Linked DNA regions of Homo sapiens: region 2 is linked to region 1. The links are contacts of gene promoters, found by promoter capture Hi-C in blood cells and fetal thymus (Javierre and others, 2016). All regions are on one chromosome and are shown on one strand. The core of a region is centred on a gene start or on the middle of the fragment in contact, and the rest is flanking DNA. Distances in the headings are between cores, read along the strand shown.

Evidence for each region. The method cuts DNA at HindIII sites, captures the fragments that hold promoters and counts their contacts. A CHiCAGO score of 5 or more calls a contact.
Region 2: a contact is called between a fragment that was not itself captured here and the fragment with the promoter of GSX2 in region 1, in 1 of 17 cell types (fetal thymus). The highest score is 7.0, in fetal thymus.

What each region holds. Positions count from the first base shown.
Region 1 is chr4:54,097,748-54,101,858 of GRCh38, forward strand. GSX2 (GS homeobox 2) reads left to right here and starts at 2,416. Exons shown (of 2, transcript NM_133267.3): 1 at 2,416-3,171; 2 at 3,835-4,111. The coding sequence starts at 2,598. RefSeq lists enhancers at 2,260-3,050, 3,051-3,842, 3,843-4,111. The HindIII fragment of the contact is 4,571 bases long and covers 1,787-4,111 here.
Region 2 is chr4:53,010,701-53,014,811 of GRCh38, forward strand. All of the region lies in intron 5 of SCFD2 (sec1 family domain containing 2), which reads right to left. Among named protein-coding and RNA genes, the nearest start is that of SCFD2-AS1, 85 kb to the left of the region's middle. The HindIII fragment of the contact is 2,064 bases long and covers 1,050-3,113 here.

The DNA.
Region 1 (4,111 bases), core at 1,166-3,665:
AAACTGTGCAAGAAATGGGATTCCAGTATACTTGCTCTTGGTGGGCTGAAGGAATTAACCAAGTACCCTAAGGGTCAAGTTTTTCAGACATGGTCTTGCTTTCAGCCTCAGCCTGGTCTGAAACCACTGCTCCCCTTGAAGTCTTTAGGAAACCCCATGAGCCCCTCACATTTCTCAAAACTCCTTGGCACTGAAAAATGAAAGTTTCCACAGTCAGACACAAATTGAATAAGATGCACAAGCCTCTTGCATAGTTAAGATTCTCTAAGGTAAAATGGTCTGCACATGGGTGCGATTTCTAGGACTTTAGCATAGGAGCTCTTCCTCTGAACACATCCCAAACTGCTGGGAACATTGTGACTCAAACCATCAGCCCAAAACAGACTGTGGATAACCTGGGACCTAACCCAGAGGAGGAAAAGAGAGAAAGCTATTATTCTTAAAGAGTATCTGTATCTATATCTATATATGCTTGTATAGTTGCAAAGTGAATGGGGGGAATCGAGTCATCTATTTGGACAGTTTAGGACTGTAAAAAATATCCTGCCATTCAGCAGGGTATGTTTTTTATTGCCATTCTCCATCAGTGGCTCCAAGCCTTCTTCTTGGGGCTGAAATGATTTCGGGGATTGCCTAGATCCTCCAGTCATGAACAAGGGCGGGCTGGGGTGAGCCTGAGCGTCTGCAGACCTTGTGGTACAAAAGTAGTTACAGCTGAGCTGCCCCATGTTAAGCCCTGAGACTCCTTAATTGTTGTCACAAGATGTTGGATTAGCACATTTCTGGAATAGCTGTCTGTTTACACTCCAGAGACCCACCGTCCACTAACCGCTTTCTAATTGAATTCTAATCACATTCAAATAGCTCAATAACCAGCCTCAGCTGCAATTCATAAAACTTTAATTGCCATCCATAAATCCTGGGCTCCCCAGAGCCGGGCATCCCTACAACCCAATTACACTTCTCTAGCAGGCAAGAGAGACTGTCACAGAGATGGAGAGGGGAAGACAGAGGATGGAAAGATAGAGCCGTGCCTCTAGCTAGTGCTCTCCTGGATTTGGGCACCTTGTTCTCTCAGGTGGAGGGAGTCCTGTCTCTAAGTTTCTTAGCACCATCATGAACTCAGGATTGAAGTTAGCTGCTCTGGAAAAAGGATCAGACTTCTAACTATTGCCCAACCACATGGCCCCAGCCCGCTTTTCTGCAGGGGGAAATGAAGAGAGAAAATGGCCACCTCTGCTGCCTTGCCTTCTCCGAAGATAAATAGTCCCAATAGTTTGGCAGCCACCCTCTCTCGGGCAGTAAGGGGTGTGCAAGACTTCCATGGACCAGAGAGAGTTCCCTTACAAAGCCACTTCTGCCAATCAGAGGCAAGATTCCCTGGATGGCTGAATCCTCTTCATCCTTTTTAGGTTCTTAAGATGCAGAGGAAAGAGTGCTTCCTGGTTAGCCTTGCTAAGCTGCCCATGATTGGTAAAAATGAGGGACAGGAAATCCTCAGACCCAGAGCGAAGGTCTATCTAATCCCTGCTGCGTCTTTAGGAGGGCTTGGTGTTTGAGGTCCTCCCTCCAAAATCTTCAGGATGGAGTTTGTAGGATTGCCCTGGAATGCCATGGTGTTACTACTTGGAGAAAGAAAAGGGTGACTCTTCAACATCTCTCTCTCTCTGCGGAAGTGGGAGGTGCCGATCAGAAAGGGAAACAAGGAAGGGTCGTTGGTCTGAGTGGCCCCAGGAGGGCCCCAAGTACAAAGACACTTCAGACCTTGTCGAACATCAGCATGAAAAGCTTGACGGTTTCTTAGCTGGGAGGCCTCACAGTTCTGCGCCGGACAGTCCTGAACTAACCACCTGAATGACCTCTGCCAAGTCCAAAAGCTGTGGACAGGGGTAGGTGTAACCGTGGCCAGAGCTGCGCTCAGGGACTGGACGACTGCCAGTCCGTCGCCCGCACAATCCTGCTCCAAACCGCAGGCCTCACACTTCACCGCGCCGCAGCCACCCCTACCACAGAGGAGCTGGAAACACTGAGCATTCCTATTAAATAAGCCTCCAAGTCCCCACCTGGTACGCTTTGCGGTGGGGCGTGGGGAAGAGTTGGGCTGCGGCCAGGGTAGCGAGAGGGGGTGGGATGGAGGATGCAGCGCTGTGATTTCTCAGTAAAGCGTGGAGAAAGAGGGGGAGGAGGCCGGCCTCCCCGGGAAATTAACAAAACCTACACTTTGCAAAGTCTCCCCCATCCCCCTCCCCCGAGTTCTTCCCCGCCGCGCGCCCGCCCCTCCTCGCGGCTTCTGTTGTGACTCGGGCAGCCTATCCCGAGGGTGCGGAGCTGCCGAGGAGCCTGAGCCGAGCGGTACTCCGCAGCATCACGTGCCAGGGTGGGGGGCTATAAAATACCCGAGCCGGGGCGCCGGGCGGGGGACGTGAGGACCAGCCCTCTCCGGGGACCCCTTTGTTCCCAGCCCAGACGCCAACACCTCTGCGTCCCCAAGGGCTTGACTGCCCGTGTCTGCGCGGCTCCCAGGGCAGAGCTTAGAACACTAGAGGAGAGGGGTCGCCGCGAACTGCCGGGGCTTCCAGCCACCCACCCCTCTCGACATGTCGCGCTCCTTCTATGTCGACTCGCTCATCATCAAGGACACCTCACGGCCTGCGCCCTCGCTGCCTGAACCGCACCCCGGGCCGGATTTCTTCATCCCGCTTGGCATGCCGCCCCCATTGGTGATGTCCGTGTCCGGCCCCGGCTGCCCGTCCCGCAAGAGCGGCGCGTTCTGCGTGTGCCCTCTCTGCGTCACTTCGCACCTGCACTCCTCTCGGGGGTCTGTGGGCGCCGGCAGCGGGGGCGCAGGGGCCGGGGTTACCGGGGCCGGAGGCAGTGGGGTGGCAGGGGCCGCAGGGGCACTGCCTCTGCTTAAGGGCCAGTTCTCTTCGGCTCCTGGGGACGCGCAGTTTTGCCCGCGGGTGAACCATGCGCATCATCACCACCACCCGCCGCAGCACCACCATCACCATCATCAGCCCCAGCAGCCTGGCTCGGCCGCGGCGGCGGCAGCAGCAGCAGCGGCGGCGGCGGCCGCGGCGGCCTTGGGGCACCCGCAGCACCACGCACCTGTCTGCACCGCCACCACCTACAACGTGGCGGACCCGCGGAGATTCCACTGCCTCACCATGGGTAGGGCGGGGTCTTGGGGCACCTGCGCTCCGCGCCTTTCGCGCTCCTGGAGCAAACTTTCCACCTCCAGTGGAGGAAGTGGGAGCCCGGGGACAGGGTGAAGAGAGAGGACGGGCTTTTAGTGTAACCGTAGAGTCAGCCACAGAAGTTCCACGAAAGTGGAAGTTAGTTTGCCAGCTTCTCCACTCAGCCTGGTGCGTTTTACTCCTAGTAGTAGGTGCTCGAGTATTGCCTTATTAATACTGGGGCCTTAGGGACCTCGAACGTCACGGCGGATAAACCAGAGGTTAACTGCTTGGGATTTGGGGTGGGTGTGTTTGAACCTGTGTGGCATCCCCGCGTCGGGGCGGCTAAAGCGTCTTGACGTTTTTGGCTAAGCCTGCGCGCTTCTCCGCTTGGCTCAAAGGGAGGCGATCAGATAGTGCAAGCCCCCATCCCTCTTTAATCCTGTGACTTCGCATCCTGCGCATCGAAGACCTTTATTTGCTTTGCACGTCTCTTTTCTTCCCCGCTAAGCAACCACGTGCCTTGAAATGGGAAAGGGATACAGATGTTCGGCTGGGCTTCCCCGGGTGGGTCCCTGAAATGCGTCCTGGTTAGCACATGGGGTGGGAGCACCTTGCCCGAGCCTTACCTCTCTACCCTCTCTTCGCCGGTCCGCAGGAGGCTCTGACGCCAGCCAGGTACCCAATGGCAAGAGGATGAGGACGGCGTTCACTAGCACGCAACTCCTGGAGCTGGAGAGAGAATTCTCTTCCAACATGTACCTGTCTCGACTCCGGAGGATTGAAATCGCCACTTACCTGAACCTGTCGGAGAAGCAGGTGAAAATCTGGTTTCAGAACCGCCGAGTGAAGCACAAGAAGGAGGGGAAGGGCACGCAGAGGAACAGTCACGCGGGCTGCAAGTGCGTCGGGAGCCAGGTGCACTACGCGCGCTC
Region 2 (4,111 bases), core at 832-3,331, 1.1 Mb before region 1:
TCTTAGGTATGGTATTGGTCACCTCTCTCAAGTGAAAGTTTTCATTCCTTTTGCTTCTTTTCCCATTTTGGGGCCGGGCTGGGGGGCGCGGTCCAGCCTCTCCAACATATGTCTTTACACTCTCAGGACGTTCCTCAGATCCCAAATACATAGCAGCAGGTAGTGTAATCAGTTATGTCCTTAGAATGGTGACAATTTAAAATTTCTGCACCTCTTTTGTTCCAGAAAATTCATGCCTTAAAAGACCAACGGCAAACTCTTCAAAATGCCTTCAGGAAATAAAGGTGACATTTGTTTCTATAGCGTACCTTGAAAAAGCATCCAGTTCAAACACTGTTCCAAAGCACTAGCTATGTCTGATTTCATATTTTACATTTGGACTTTATTTTCCCCCTAAAAAAGGCAGACATCAGAATATTATGTTTGCCAACTCATGAAACAATTGTTACTATTCTGTATTCTTTCTATGAGGATAGTATTATGAGGCTGTGCTCATAATAAAACCTTCATCCTAAATCTCTGTGCACCTTATGAATTTCACTGCATCTTTGCTTTTTTTTCCCCCCCAAAGAAGTCATTCAGGTTCCTTTAATAATACCAGTAAATAGCTCCAGCCTTCCACAGCTGCAGAGGTTTACTGTCCTGAGAGATTTTTCAGTGTTACAATTCATGCTTCCAATCAAAACAGTGACAGAGTTGACAGGATTTAGTGAGAAGAAGGACTTGATTAGGAACCAGGACACTACTGAGCAAATATTAAACAACTACAGGGAATTTCTAATATGCAGTGTTCTCTCTGTTCACAACAAAAACAAGCCAGAAACAATTTCCTGTGCTGCAGCTAAGTGAAATGGAAGTTTGTTTTTAAGGTTCCTTGTAGTGTGTTGTGTACATTTCAGCAAAGCCGATTTCACCTATGAGAGGCACTGGCTCCTTAAATAACTCCATTCTTCTCATTTCAAATAGAAACCAGCTGCACTTCTAAACTGTAACAAGAACACCTATCCAGGAGGTCAAAGCTGGAAGACACCTCACTGTGAAACGCTTCAAGCTTCTTTATCTGGGTTACAAGTTTGGTCTGCAGTGAATTGTCAGTGACAACCTGTGGCCTGGAATTTAATTCCTTGATGCCTTCATAACATTATTATTTCTTCCTCTCTAGAGGATAAACAAGTACATAATATACTATGAATTGGAGGCTGAAACCGACATTGATTGTGGGGAGAGGAAAAGGTTCTGGGAACACAAATCTGGGGATTTTTCATTGAGAATAAGTAATTTTGAAAAACCAGGTTTTAGGCTTTTTTTTTTTTTTTTTTAATAGCTTAACTCCTTCTATGGGTTAATTTGAGAGGACTCCATCCCCCTACTCCCTGCCCCACAAATTTCCAAAAACAACAGCAAGAAAGATCCTGGCAGAAGTCAAAGGGTCAATGGATCCTAAATAGTTTTCAGGTTCAAGTATGCACCATCAACAATGAGAAAAGCCCAGCCGTGTTATAATGACTCACCCCTTGACAAGAGATTCCAAACCGTGAAATCGAACAACTGCATATTTAGCCCTACGAATTGCATGGCTTACAAGTCACAGAGGGGTAAATTTGAAATAGGGAAAGGCTGGGATACCTTATTAGCATAAAATCTCTCTCTCTCTTTCTCTCTCTCTCTCTCTCTCTCACACACACACACACACACACAAAAGGCAGGGAAGTGGAGGCAGAGGCTGCACTGTGATCCTGGTCAAATAGGTTGGTCCTCTGTGAAGTGCCCATAATTCCAGAAGAACCCAGGGCTGGCTATTTGGTCCGAGGGGCCACTCTCATGGCCTGTTTGAAATAGTTCTCCTAACAGCAAGATTCAAAAAAGAATATTCTTTTCTCTCTTTATTTTTCTTTCATTCCTTTGTTCATGTAGGATAAAATTTTTACCTTTCTCTACCCCATTTCATTTTCTTAGCATTTCAGGAGAGATGAACCAGTGCTTTTCTGGTACTGCTCATCAGCATGTTCTAGCCAGTCGGCAAAAAAGGCATCTGCATTTATGGAGTTAATTGACATCTTATTAATTTTGCTCAGATTCTTTCTTTTACCTCCCTCTCCCTCTCCCCTCCTTTCTGTGTGTGTGTGTGTGTGTGTGTTTTTTTTTAAGAGAGAGAAAGCTAATGAAAACCATGTTTATATGCTCAAAGGCACAGAGGAAATTCATTACTCTGAGGAATAGCACACTCCACAAGTGAAATGAAAGTAATCTTATTTATGACAGGAAGGGGCCCTAGCTAGACTGAACTCCACCACACTTCCACTGTTACATAGAAAAGGAGCTGCAGAGCTCCTGCACCAACTCCAAATGGCGGCCTCACTGACAACAAACACATTTGCACTCTGTGTTTGAAAACTGTTAGAAGCTCCAGAAAAACAGCCATCTAATAGAGACAAGGAAACAAAATCTGCTTAGAATAGGCCATTCTTCCTTTACACCTACAGTACTTTCCCAGGACTCCTTGTGACTAAATGTTACAAAGATATCTCATCAAATCATTAGCTGATGACATTTATCAAGTACTGGTAAATACAGCTATGTTAGTTTCATAGCCTTAATTCCCTTATTAGAAGAGTTTTTCACTGTAAATTCATGGGCCCTTTCCTGTGTAAATAAATAATGGAAGAACTTAAATAATTCCTTTCACTATAAATGTCACCTTGTACCCTTGCAGACAATTCTCCCTTTCCTTCTTGAAAATTCCTTCAACTGTGAGAATATTTCCTTTTTTATTACTTGGGATTTTGCCATGTGGCTTTTTTTCCTCATTCATTCAATTAGTCAACGAAAATCATTTAGCTGTTATGTTCTAGAGGTTGGTGGGGAGATAGTCTCTACAATTTCTGTCAAAACTACTCATGAGTACTCTTCAAAATCTTAATATTATGTGAAATGTTGGCAGTAATAAGGTAGTTTTATAACATTTATTATATGGCTTCTGAGAATAACTTTTGCTGGAACGTCCTCTGAGATCATTAGGCCCATCTCCTCATTTATAGATGAGAAATCAGGCTCAAGGGCAGATCCCAGACTGTATATCTCCTTATTAAAAAATAGTTTTTTAAATTCCAAGAAGCTTCACATGTTTACCACTGAAGGAAAGGTATTATTGCTTGGATTCCGTGCAGGGGAGGGATTTTATAGTCCTCCCATCTTATGAAAAGGCTTCAGTATAAAATAAAAAGGGTCAACTAAAAAATATCTGGTATTTTGAAGTCCCATACAGAGATGCTATATGAGAGAGCAACTTGGAATTAAATTAACTAATTTGAGTTAACTCATCTTTATTAAGCCTGAGGTGCTGAGCATGTGTTGGGTCCCGGAGAAAAACAGACATACACCCTTTGCCATGTGCAGGGGATGCAGGGAGGTAAATGGGTGGACCTGTTTACATTATGGTATGGTAGGCGCTATGATGTGGAAGTGCAGAGTGCTATGAGACAGAGGAGGCTTCCTCCAGGGTGAAAGGAGTTGGTATGGAGATGGAGTGGCAGTGATTGTTCCAGGCAAAAGAAACAACTTGTATAAAAGCCTGGAAAAGAAAGTTTCAGAGTTTTTGTGAAAACAGTGTTAGTTACGCACTGAAGGGGAGGTTAGAAAGGGATTATAGTCAGAGTCTCTGATTTTCACTGGCCACACCTAAAATCCATGTGTTCCTTACTTGCCTTGTCCAAGTTGACATTTTTAAGTGTGGTATGTAACATTTATTTGTACAGTTATTCTTCCCTGTCATCCAAGACACTATTCTTAGTTTTCCTTTGCAATACACAAAGGTGATTCACTCACCTTGAGAAGGCCCTGAATTCAGCTTATTCAGCATTTATCAAGAACCTCATAGGCACAACCCTCTCCAAGTGCTGCCTCAGCCCTCTGTGTTTATAGTCCTTGTTATAGCACAGATCACATGATATTAGGGCTCCTTGGGCTCCCCCGTGAGCTCCAGGAAGGACTGTCTTAGCCACCTCCAGAACTCCAGCACAATGCCAAGCATATAACAGGAGATAAATGCTTCTTGAATAAATACACGAGCTTGGTGGGATATACCTCAATTCTTAAAACATACTTAAATGCA